Regions from separate parts of the Homo sapiens genome. Here regions 2 and 3 are each linked to region 1. The links are contacts of gene promoters, found by promoter capture Hi-C in blood cells and fetal thymus (Javierre and others, 2016). All regions are on one chromosome and are shown on one strand. Each heading gives the region's core, a stretch centred on a gene start or on the middle of the fragment in contact. The rest is flanking DNA. Distances are from core to core; before and after follow the strand shown.

Region 1 (4,234 bases), core at 882-3,381:
CTTTTACCTCTTCTTCACCTAACATATCCAATACGTTATAAAGCCTAATCTATTTTGTCATTCAAGTATTTCCTAGATTCACCCAGTCTCACCCTCACTTCCACTGTCTTACAATGGTTCATCATTATTTCTTACCTGAAAAATTGCAGAACTTCCAGTTTTACTTTTGATGCCCTGACTAAGCCTATTTAACATATAACCCCCAAGACTACCTTCGGAATAAAGCCCATGGGTTCCCAACACTACATACAGGATCAGGACAGAACTCTGTACAAGAGTGTGCAAGATTTGGCCTCTGATTACCCTGCTAAAATGACCACAACTTCACACACCTAAACTCCTTGGAGTTCCCGCAAGGAGCCACACCGTTTCATGATCCTGCTTCTCTTTTCCAATGCTATTTCTTTTGCTCCCACTTCCCATTCATCTGACTAACTTTTCCAAGACTCAGCCAGGTAACCACAACTTATAATATACACTTCCCTGACCCTTCCCCCTACCACTGACAGATTTAGGCACTTCGTGCCCTGCCCATACTTGTAAAACTAACCAAACTAAATTCCATTACAACACTTGCCATGTGCTGTGACTACTTTTTCCTGTGTCCTTCACCAGTGCTAGCACACGGTAGGAAATTAGATGTAATGACTTCTATGTGTTATTTATGACCAGGGGCACTTTACAAACATCATCCAGCTCTTCATTTAACAGCTCTCGGAGGCAGGAAAACTGCAGAATTCTTAACATTTCACCTGAATAAAAGTGACACAGAATCTTAGATAAAGGCTGACTTCCTGTGACTAGGAACAGTAAACTAGCTCCGCAAGTTAAATAAACTTTTGACCCTTTCTATAACCATTCTCAATAATCTTTAGGATTTTCATTACATTTCTATTTTTTCCTACTCGGCAAACTTGTAAGACTGTAACTGTTAATCCCATTCTTCCTTCCAGATTGCAAGACAAAAGCAGCATACACACTCTGCCTGATGCGAAGTCAATTTCATTCGAACCCTTTAGGATTTAAAAATAAAAACTGTTTTGCCAGCACAAGATGTCACCGCTCTCTTACCATATCATCCCCTTTCCCTCTTCGTAATATATTCATCAAGTTCACTGAGTATGTATTCATCAACAGTCCCTTTACGTGGGACCGTGAGCCCCTACCTTTTTCAATTTGATGAGTGAGAAGATAAGTAACCTTGAAGCCAGATTTTCAGAGAGAGAGAGAGAGACTGCAGGACCAGCTGCGGAGCTGGGCTGCGCGATGCCCCTGGCTCCTCCCTGGGGCTGGAGGAGCGGGAGACCTTCGGCGAGGCCTGTCACTCACCTGACTGGGTGCCTGAATTGGTAAAGCTTTCCTGAGGCTGCGGTCATTCCAGGGCCATCGGGCATCTGGAGAGGAAAGGAAGTGAATCCAGTTATCACCCACCTCCTTCTAGAAAGTGGAAACGTGCACGACCCAGTGTTCCTCGTGCCCGCTGGGAATGTAACCCCAGGGCTCTCAGCAGCCTCGCTCCCGGCTGGGTGCCTGTGGCCCATCGCTCCAGAGGACACATCCGCCGCGTCGGCACCTTTATGGCCACCGGCAGGCGGGATGTTAAGCGAGAGGCAGGACCCGGTGTCTCGCATGTCTCTCTCAGGCCCTGCGTCCCGAGAGCCCTGGTCGATCTTCTGCACCCGTGGGAGGCGCGGCCTGAGACGCGTGGCTCACTCACCGCCTCCGCGGCGTGGTTCGGCGTCTCCTCTTCTTTCTTGCCTCCGGCGTCCACCCAGGGTCTCCAGAAGCCTGCGTATCTGCGGGATAGGGGAGCACAAGGCGCGCAGAGGAGACGTGAGCCCAGACCCGGGAGAATCCACCGAAGCCGAGCGCTGGCACCGGGCAGTGGGGGATGGAGAGTTGGAGGGGAGGAGCTGGGGAGGCGCAGGAGGGAGAGACGGGGGAAGCTGGGAGGCGCAGAGCAGCGCGGGGAAGCCTACCCGGAGTCCGCGCCCGCGCGCCGCGTAGGGCCGTCGGTGGCCGCGCACGCCGCAGCTCCACTCTCTGTACCCTCTGCGCCTCCCGCGTTCTCCATGACGCCGCAGAGCTGGGCGGAAGGCCGCTGCCAGCTCGCGGGCAATCTTGACCAGTTCCAGTAGGTCCGAGACCCGAGCTTTATATAGCCCTCGCGGCCTGCTGCACATTGAGAGGTTCGCTGCCTCTCCGCCCCTCTCCCTGCTAGCCGCATAAACAAAAAGGCTGCGCGTGAAGGCGCACCGGGCTGAGCCCCGGGTGTGAACGCGTGCAACTCCCAAATGGCCCGGGACAGGGTTTTGTCGAGCGAATGTTAATCGCCCTTCGACACATGGCTGCGGAGAAAAACAACATTCGCCCGAGCAGCCAATTTCCGTGTGAAGAGGCCAGGAGGAGATGGAATTAAGCGAGTCTACACGTTTTGTGGATTTCTGCAAAAAGGCCAAGTGACTGGTTAATTGCTTGATTCGCTGGAGACTCAGGACTTGGCCTGTGGCAAATCAACTGGTTCTGCATCCCGTGTTCTAAAAGCTGGGATGCAGACTAGAATTCAAAGGAATAAACTTAATTCCTCTTCATGGAACAATTTTCTAAAAAATGGGGAGAATGCATGGACTCCTTAAGAGAGGAATGTCGGTTTTTTAAAAAAGTATTGATAAACTAGGTTCATACTCCAGCCTATTATTATTTGAAGATAATAGAAAATTATTGGCAACAAGAGGTAAATTGTAAAAGATTCGCTGTTCTGGCTAAGAGAGCCAGAGACTGGAGTCATGTGATTTGGGCATAGAGCTCTAAATTATCTTCTCGTGTCTTTTGTGATTTTCCCCAACATTTTATCAGTGTCCTCCTACAATAACTTTTGAGTTCGTCTATACACCTCTGTCACTACTTGGTATTTTGTCACTCAATGGTAATTACAAAATTCTTTTTTGAGGGCAGTGTTGTGGAATGATAATGAAATCTTGAAAAGTTATGATATGAGACAAGTTAATCAAACGTCTGCACCCCTGTTTCTCTGATTTGAGTTACCCCTCACTTATCTACCACTAAACTTTGTAAAAAGTGTTATGCATCGAGGAAAAGATGATATATAAATGTTATAATTTTTTTCAAAATGTTTTAAATAATAAAACTGGACTTTCTCTTAAAAGTTTAGACAAAAATCTTGATTGTAAACTATAGTTGTCTCTGCTATTCATTCAGCTACTGCATAGGAAAATAATTTAATTATTAATAGTAGCTAAGAGCCTATAATGATCTACCTGCCAGGAAGGTGAGATTTGGGTTGCTTCTGATAAGAAAATCAGTAAGGATAGATACCTAATGCATGTCTGCATCCCCTACAGTTATTGTTAGGCTAAATAAAATAAAGCTTATAAAATGCGTTTTGCAGTGCCTGGCATATAGTAAGCCTTCAACAGATTTTAAGCTACGTAAAAAAATATAAGGCCTTAACAGATGTTAACCTTTCTGATAAAATGGCTTATTATTTCAGTTCCATAATGTAAACTAGTTAAATCATTGTGGAAGATGGTGTGGTGATTCCTCAAAGACCTAGAACCAGAAGTACCATTTGACCTAGCAATCCCATTACTAGGGATATATGCAAAGGAATATCAATCGTTATTTTACAAAGATGGCATGCATAATGTTTGTATGCGTATGTTCATTGCAGCACTATTTGCGATAGCAAAGATATGGATTCAACTCAAATGCCCATCAGTAATAGACTGGATAAAGAAAATGTGGTACATACACAACACGAAATACTATGCAGCCATAAAAAGGAACAAGATCATGTCCTTTCCAAGGACGTGGATGGAGCTGGAAGCCGTTATCCTCAGCAAACTAACGCAGGAACATAAAACCAAACACTGCATGTTCTCACTTATAAGTGGGAGCTGAATAATGAGAACATCTGGACACAGGGAGGGGAAAAACACACACTGGGCATGTCAGTGGGTGGGGTGGGAGGAGAGAGAGGATTAGGAAAAATAGCTAATGCATGCTAGGCTTAATACCTAGGTGATAGGTTGATAGGTGCAGCAAACCACCATGGCACATGTTTACCTATGTAACAAACCTGCACATCCTGCACATGTACCACAGAACTTAAAATGAAAATAAAAAATAAAAAAAAATCTTTTTGAGGTGGCTGTAATGTGCTAACTACTGTGCTTTCCAGATAAGGACAGTAAGGTATTCCTCCTATCCTTGA
Region 2 (3,832 bases), core at 495-2,994, 100 kb before region 1:
TAAAGGTCTGAACAGGAAACATTGTCATCTATTATCTCTAAGGGCAGCCACTGTAAGACTTCAAAAGAACCTTGGTCTCCACAATCTTTTATCTTAACCTGAACATTCCCTTTCTGTGGATCTCAGGTCTTTAGACAAACTCAACCAATTGTCAACCAGAAAATGTTTAAATGTTTAAACTTACCTAGAGCCTGGAAACCCGTGCCCCCCCCAATCCAGCTTTGAGTTGTCCTGCCTTTCTGGACCAAACTAATGTATTTCTTAAATGTATTTGATTGATGTCTCATGCCTCCCTAAAATGTATCAAACCAAGCTATGCCCCGACCACCTTGGGCACATGTTCTCAGGACCTCCTGAGGGCTGTGTCACAGGCCACGGTCACTATATTTGGCTCAGAATAAATCTCTTCAAAGATTTTACAGAGTTTGACTTTTTTCATCAACATCTAGAAATGTTAGGTTAGTCACCTACTAAATAAGAATAGGGCACTTAGAACAGCCATATTTTAAAATTATCTAGAAATCCAATAGGGGCTATATTTAACCAAATATTTTAAAGTGCCATTTTAAAGCTAAATCACATCAAGATGAATTTCAAACAGGATCGCCACTACCACTGATTTTTCATGATCCATGCTTCAACTATTAGTCTTGCCTTATTTGTGTTCTAGTCTTCCCTTTTTGTCTTGCTGCTTGGCTTTTGATCACATATATTATTTACTTTCACTCAGTTACAGAGAATGAAGATCAAAAGCTACAATGAGATGAACATTCCTTATTAATTACTATATATTATGAAGCTTTGATGGAAGAAGAGGTTGGGCCTAATGTCCCAAATAAGAATTGTGGCACCAATCTTGTGAGTGTAACAATATTGGCAGCCATCACGAGCAGAGAACACTGACTGCTGGCTGTAACTTACTTTTATGTTTTATCTAACAATATGCATAATCCTGGCCTCCAACTCAAACTATACGAAGATTTAAAGACTTTGTTATTTTCTAAAACTGTAAGATTATTAAAGTGCAGTTTCATATAAACAGGAAGAACTGAGAGATGCTTGTTATGAAAGATCTTCACTTCAGTGTTGGGCAGTCTGTTTCCTACTACACTGTTACTCACCTTACTCCTTGTTCTGTAAATGGCACTGGTCCACAAATGCAGACGAGAACTTTGGATTTGTCCAAATTTCTTTTCAAAAATTCAGAAAGAAGAGCTGGTGAAATATGTCCCTGTTTGCCATTCCATTCAGAAATAGGTGCTGAGAGAACAAATTCAACATCCAGTCTAGGGAAAAGAAAAACAGCTTTTTAAAGTTTATTATTTTAAACATATTATTAACATGTTTCAAGTTCAAGAATATATTTCTCCCCTAAAGGAACAATTTAATATATAAAGATACACTTACTTGCTAGAAAAACACTGAAAAAAATTGTAAGATTTAACAAAAACGTATAGGTAAATCTATATTTACTAAGGATTAGCTTTTCCTATAGATAAGGAATGTAATTTGGCATTTTTTTTTAAATTGAACTAATTATCCAAGCATGGTAGCTCACACCTGTAACCCTAGCATCTTGGGAGGCCAAGGTGGGAGGATTGTTTGAGAACAGGAGTTTGAGACCAGCCTGGGCAACACAGTGAGACCTAGTTTCTACAAAAAAAAAAACCCAAAAACAACAACAACAAAAAAAACTGTTTAAACTTAGCCAGGTGTGGTGGCATGTGCCTGTGGTCCTAGCTATTTGGGAAGCTGAGGCAGGAGGATCGTTTGATCCAGTGAGATATGATTGCACCAGCCTAGGCAACAGAGCAAGAACCTGTCTCTTAAAAAAGAAATTAATTAAAAATAAATATATAAATGAAATAAAGATCCCAAGGGATCTCAGAGAACGCTACATTTCTATTAATAATCTACTAGTATTGAAAAAAAAGAACAAATATTGCATGTTCTCACTTATGAGTGGAGCTAAACCCTGTGTACATAAGAACATAAAGATGAGAACAATAGACACTGGGGGCTCCAAAAGGAGGGAGGTGTAGGGAAAGGGGCAAGGGCTGAAAACCCTCCTAGTGTGTACTATGTTCATTGTCTAGGTGACAAGATCAATAGAAATCCAAATTTCAGCATCACGCAATATACCCTTCAAGCAAACCTGCACATGTACCCCCTGAACCCAAAATAAACAATAATAATATGCTGGTATAAATCACAGTAAATAGCAATTACCAGTGACACATGCATTTTAATCTCTGGCTGCAATTTAAGGATATTCTAAAGAGGCTGTTATCCTGCTTATCTCCTTTTCATACGCTGAGAAAAGAGCTTAAACTGGAACAGGAGCATTCCCAAGTTAAGACTCAATAATTCTTTAATGAAAGATTTTTTATATCAAAATATAGACAATTCCTGTGGAATACTCTCTCCTGGGTTTTCTGAATGAAGGTTAACTTACTGTCTAAAAAATTACAGCTTTGAGATGCTGGAGACATGTGGGGGGCACACAGTAAACATCCTGAAATTCTTTTATAATTTCAAAAGTGCCAGAAGGGGTTGGGACCCTTGAAAAGGTTACCTGAAAATAAATTCAGATAACCCATAAAATACAAAGTAATATGAAAGAGGAAGAGAACAGACCTGCTTCTGATGAGTGCCTATGTGATCTCAAACGTCAATCTAAGTAAGCTTGTCAAAAATTTTATTTTAAAGTAGGCTGATAGTGATCTGAGATGACAAGTCTTGAAATACAAATGTATTCATTTAGTCTAAATCATTAGCAGTCATCCAACGACTTATTCCCTCCTCCTCTAGCCAATCAGCTTCAGCAACTTGCCTCCTTCATTTTCTCACACAAAGTCCCTTACCTTCCCATTTTTACTGTCACAACTCCAGATCAGGTTCTTATATCTCATCTAAAATATTACATTAACAGCCTTAGCCCTTAATCTATTTGATATACCATTGCCATATTAGTTCCCCTAAAAACTCTGATACAACTTTACAACTTTTTTGCTTAAAAGCTTCAGTGATTCCTCACTGCCCACAGATTGGTATTTCAGAGTACTTGGGGCCCCAGCTTTTCCTGCTTTTGTTTTTTTTGTTTTTTGTTTTTTTTCTAGCTAAAGAAAATGCCTGCAACTGTAGTAAAAATTGCTATGTGCTCAAAGGAAAAAAATCTCACAAAACTAGGAATCAAAATTAGATAAAATATATATAATTATATATGTTTCCATAATTATATGGAAACATTTCTTAAAATGAATCTAATGAAACACTAGTATGCCTCCAGATGTTAGTAGTTATTCCATGAAAGCAGGCTAACTATCAAATAAGTCTGTGACATACTGGGTTAAAAAAAGTTAAATATATTTCCGTAGAATTTCAGAAAGCCTTATATATGCTAAGTTCAGAGTAAATCTTCAGGAAGGCATATACTGTTTCCCAAATTTATTCAATCACAGAGTCCATTCCGGGGAACACATTAACATTTCAAAGAACACATTCTGAGCAACACAACATCTGAGGAACATCTCCTGGAAGAAACCGAAAGTGCTATAAGGCTCCAGATTAGTGGGCTGCATATCTGTCAGCATAAGAGGCTGGGGAAAAAGAAACAGTTTCAGGTATACTGTTCAATTTACTTCTGCTTCTGGCATCATCAGCTTTTGCTAACTTAAATGGAACTGCCACATTGCCAGTCCCAATACTGACATCAGAAGACAAAAACATATAGTCCACAGAGCCTGTCAGCACTACAGGGAGATGAGCCACAGAGTGTCACTGTGCCTTCTTCCTATGTCTATCTGATATATAATATTTACTTCACATATTA
Region 3 (3,791 bases), core at 1,258-3,757, 120 kb before region 1:
AAGGAGAACTCCAAATTACGGGGAACAAGGCCTCTGGATTCACTAAAATTCCATGCAGCTGCAAAAAAAAAAAAAAAAAAAAAAAAAAAAAGGCACGCATTTGGTTTCTCTGTTCACTTCCTTTCTTTAAAAATTGTCCTCTCATTTACTTTTCTTCTACTCTATTTGTCTGTTATAAAGTTTTGGTGCCACAAAAGAAATAGCACTTGAATATAATATTTTCTTTTTAATTCTCAGCGAGGCAAGGTACTTCTATAGAAGAGTGGAGCAATGGTGAGCGCACACTTGGACAAGGGAGGGGAAGGGGTTCTTATCCCTGACGCACGTGGCCCTTGCTGCTGTGTCATTCCCCTATTGGCTAGGGTTAGACTGCACAGGATAAACTAATTCCAACTGGCTAATTTAAAGAGAGTGAGGGGGTGGGGGTGAGTGGTTTGGCGGGAAAAATGGTTATGCAGGGTGGATAATGAGTCAGGGTGGAGCAGGTAGCAGGTCATCGGAATGAGTCAGGGTGGAGGAGGTAAACGGAGTGAGTCGGGGTGGAACAGGTGATTGAAATCAGTCAGGGTTGAGCAGGTAATCGACAAAGATTGCTTTATGAGGAAGTTAAGTTTAAAAGTAGAAGGCAAAGAATTGAACATACTGACATATTGATTCTTTGAAAAGAAATTTAGAACTCATATCTAACATCTCCTTCTCCTTTTGCCATCTTCAGTACCAAGTGAAAAGAAAATAGAGAAGGCTTCTAATGACTCAGACCCCTTAAAGAACTCAGAATTAAGGTGCCACTCACCCCTTTTTGAGCTGTTCTGATTTGCTGTGGAGTTTCAACAGTCATGTGCTGATTCTTCTCAGGTCTAAAGCTCTGCTTTCTTGTATCGCATTACCTGATTTATTTGGCTTTTGGGAGTACCAGAGATCACCTTGTACTGTGAGAGTATTTGCCTTTGGCGTGTGTAATGCTGCATGAGAGCTACAATGTTAGGGGTGGTTGAGGGCAGTTTACAGGAAATGGTCATTACTATAGGGGACGACTACTCTTTGTTTTTAATGTTTAGATAAGAAAATCCTGTATACTTTCTTCGCCCCATTCCTTAAAGGCCTCCACCCTAAAGCCAGTAATCTAATTAAGCAGCTAAGTTGAAAATACCACCTTTAAAGGAAATTTACATTTTGTAAGGGCATATCTGTCTCTGCACCTAAAGTTCCTAATGGAACTTTAACTAGGGGTAAGACAATAGCTTAAAGTTTACATAACAAAACTTGTCTTTGTTTAGATCTAATCCTGTGCCTTTGAGTTGTACATTTTCTACCTTGTTTCACGTGATTCATATCTTTGGAGATGCAAATTTAGAATTACCTAGTTAACAATGATTTAGGACATGGAACAGATAATGAAGAGGTTCATAGTCTAAAGTAGGGAAGAGAGAATTTTTGAATACTAGCAAATGAAAAATTTTAAATCTATAAGATCTGCCTCTGAGTCTATTATGTCTGTATGTTCATATGTGTCATGTGAAAATATTTCAGTACCAATTATATGAAAGACATCTAATTAGTTGGCTTAAAGAAAAGTAAACATTTGTCAGACTAATAGAAGCTAGCTCAGAGGCTTTTCAGTTCACATGACGTTAGTCATCTTTGGTAAGATTAATTTGGTTAATTTAGTCTCAAAATTTTCTCCAGCAATTTAAAATCTTAAGGTCATGTTATGTTAAATTAAGTAATCCTATGTTTTCTCTGGGAATTAGGGTTACTGAGAGTTAGAATAGTAGGAGAATAAGATGCGGTTTTGGTGAAGTTTGCAAAAAAAACAATGAGGATGTGATTTTTGCTTAAGAAAATGTACTTTTTTTTTCCAATTTGAAGGACCTTTCTACTGGTGTTGAGAAAAAAAACACTATTTGCATCCAACCATTTGTGGTAAACTGGTAAGTTTGTATTAATATCTCATGAGTAGAGTTCTGAAGTAAAAGCTATAGGATCTTTATTTGTACGAGTATGTGTATGTGCTTAGATGTGTTTATCTGTACATATGTGTATGCATGCTTAGGTGAGTTAAGGTGTACATACATGTGTTTTGTTACGTGTTGTGGCCACAAGGTACCAAATTGGATTAGAAATAAAGGACTACTCAGGAATTAAGTAAATGAGCCAAAATGCTTTGCAAGTTCACGTGACATAAGTAAATTGCAAATAAACAAGCTGGCTTTAAAGTTATTGGTAAAATAAAATTAGAAATGTCTTCAGAATTGTCAGCCTACATTATTGTTTAGATTTATTAGCTAGGAAGTTTTCTATTTATCTCTGCTAAATATTATGAGGTATCAAGATTTAGCATGAGTTATAAAGCTGTAAATGTAGCCCCAAAGAGAATTTTATCTTATATAATTTTTTGATAAATAAGAAATTTAATATTATTGTGAGAGAGAAGAGAGAAAGAAATCAACTAGGCAGATAGTTAGGGCTAGAGTCCTCAGTAGAATTCCCTTCCAACAAAAAGCAGCTTCTCTTCTAACAAAAAGCAGCCCAACAAGTCATTTCTCTTTTAGCAAAGAGCAGCCTGAAAGATCAGGCTGCAAACACAGATAAGGAAGGCAAGTTCTAACACAGAATGGGACCTCGTATGTAATCAACAAGTTTTGCTGATATATATTGAGCCCAAGTAGAGCACATTCCTCTCCCTTCTTGGAAATGCTCAGACAAGGAGGCTTGCACAGGGGAAGTGCCTGCAGCAGCACTGATAAGAAGAGCGACCCTGGACCAGGCACATCCACCACAGAGGGTTCTGACCCTCTCCTCTTTTTTTTTTTTCCACACATACGCAGTAGGAAGAGATAAGCAAGATGGAGTAACTCAGACTAAGGAGCCCACATGTGCACTAGAAAGGTTGGGGTGAAGACTGTCAGAAATTTGTGCCATATGCAAATGAAACACCTACTCCTGATTTTTTTTGTGCAGTATATAAATGAAACACACCTCCCCACCAGTTTGTCTATAAAAACCTTTGCATTTCACTGTAAAATGGCAACCCATTTTTCTAGGACCCCTCTTGGTGCCAGAGAGCTTTCTTCCTTTTGCTTATTAAAATTCTGCTCTAACTTCACCTTTGGAGTGTCCAGGTCCTTGATTTCCTCAGCCATGAGACCAAGAACTTTCGGTGACACCCCAGACAACAAGGCTGGTTTCAATTGGTTTAACTAAAACAACTAAATCTTGAATTATTGGCAACTCCCCCACCACCTATTTATTTAACCTTAAGGTTCTTACTTAGATAAACACCTGAAATCCATAGGCTATAAAAATGGATAATAGGGAAATAACTTTAAATGATTATCATAGTTTTCATAACGAATCTAGGTAAAATATTAAGAAATTAATTAGGTAAGTATAATGGAATAAATGCTTATAAAAACTTGTCATATAATTTAGAATCTAAAGTTAAATTAATAATAAATATTAATTAAATGGGTCTTTCCAATATTTTAAAAAAATTACAGGAAAACATTTTTCTAAAAAATAATGGGTCCTTATTAAAAAAAAAATTTTGTCTACTTCAAAGGTTATTTAAAGGTTATTTATAAAACAAGGTAAAGGAACCATTAAGTAAGAGAGATGACAAGAAAGTTGTAAATATAAAGAGGTATTAAAAGGAATATAATTTTATATGAGAAACAATTTTGTATTATACATTTTTTGCCCTAAAATAAAATGCCTGGTTATTTAAGAAAAAAGAATGTTTAGGATAAAACAGGAAGTCCAAACATGTCATAAATGGTTTGTGTAAATTG

The links. Contacts are between HindIII fragments. The CHiCAGO score rates a contact against its expected background, and 5 or more counts as called.
Region 2: a contact is called between a fragment that was not itself captured here and the fragment with the promoter of RIPPLY2 in region 1, in 1 of 17 cell types (neutrophils). The highest score is 6.6, in neutrophils.
Region 3: a fragment that was not itself captured here is called in contact with the fragment with the promoter of RIPPLY2 in region 1 in 1 of 17 cell types (neutrophils); the score reaches 5.5 in neutrophils.

The regions. Positions count from the first base shown.
Region 1 is chr6:83,851,257-83,855,490 of GRCh38, reverse strand. RIPPLY2 (ripply transcriptional repressor 2) reads right to left here and starts at 2,131. Exons shown (of 4, transcript NM_001009994.3): 1 at 1,980-2,131; 2 at 1,718-1,796; 3 at 1,330-1,394. The coding sequence starts at 2,074. RIPPLY2-CYB5R4 (RIPPLY2-CYB5R4 readthrough) reads right to left here and starts at 2,131. Exons shown (of 18, transcript NR_174604.1): 1 at 1,980-2,131; 2 at 1,718-1,796; 3 at 1,330-1,394. The HindIII fragment of the contact is 2,033 bases long and covers 1,358-3,390 here.
Region 2 is chr6:83,952,752-83,956,583 of GRCh38, reverse strand. It overlaps RIPPLY2-CYB5R4 (RIPPLY2-CYB5R4 readthrough), which reads right to left. Exons shown (of 18, transcript NR_174604.1): 17 at 1,122-1,286. CYB5R4 (cytochrome b5 reductase 4) reads right to left here. Exons shown (of 16, transcript NM_016230.4): 15 at 1,122-1,286. Among named protein-coding and RNA genes, the nearest start is that of LINC02857, 66 kb to the left of the region's middle. The HindIII fragment of the contact is 1,886 bases long and covers 802-2,687 here.
Region 3 is chr6:83,973,721-83,977,511 of GRCh38, reverse strand. No RefSeq gene overlaps it. Among named protein-coding and RNA genes, the nearest start is that of LINC02857, 45 kb to the left of the region's middle. RefSeq lists enhancers at 268-562, 1-1,065 and a cis regulatory region at 2,456-3,061. The HindIII fragment of the contact is 8,700 bases long and covers 1-3,791 here.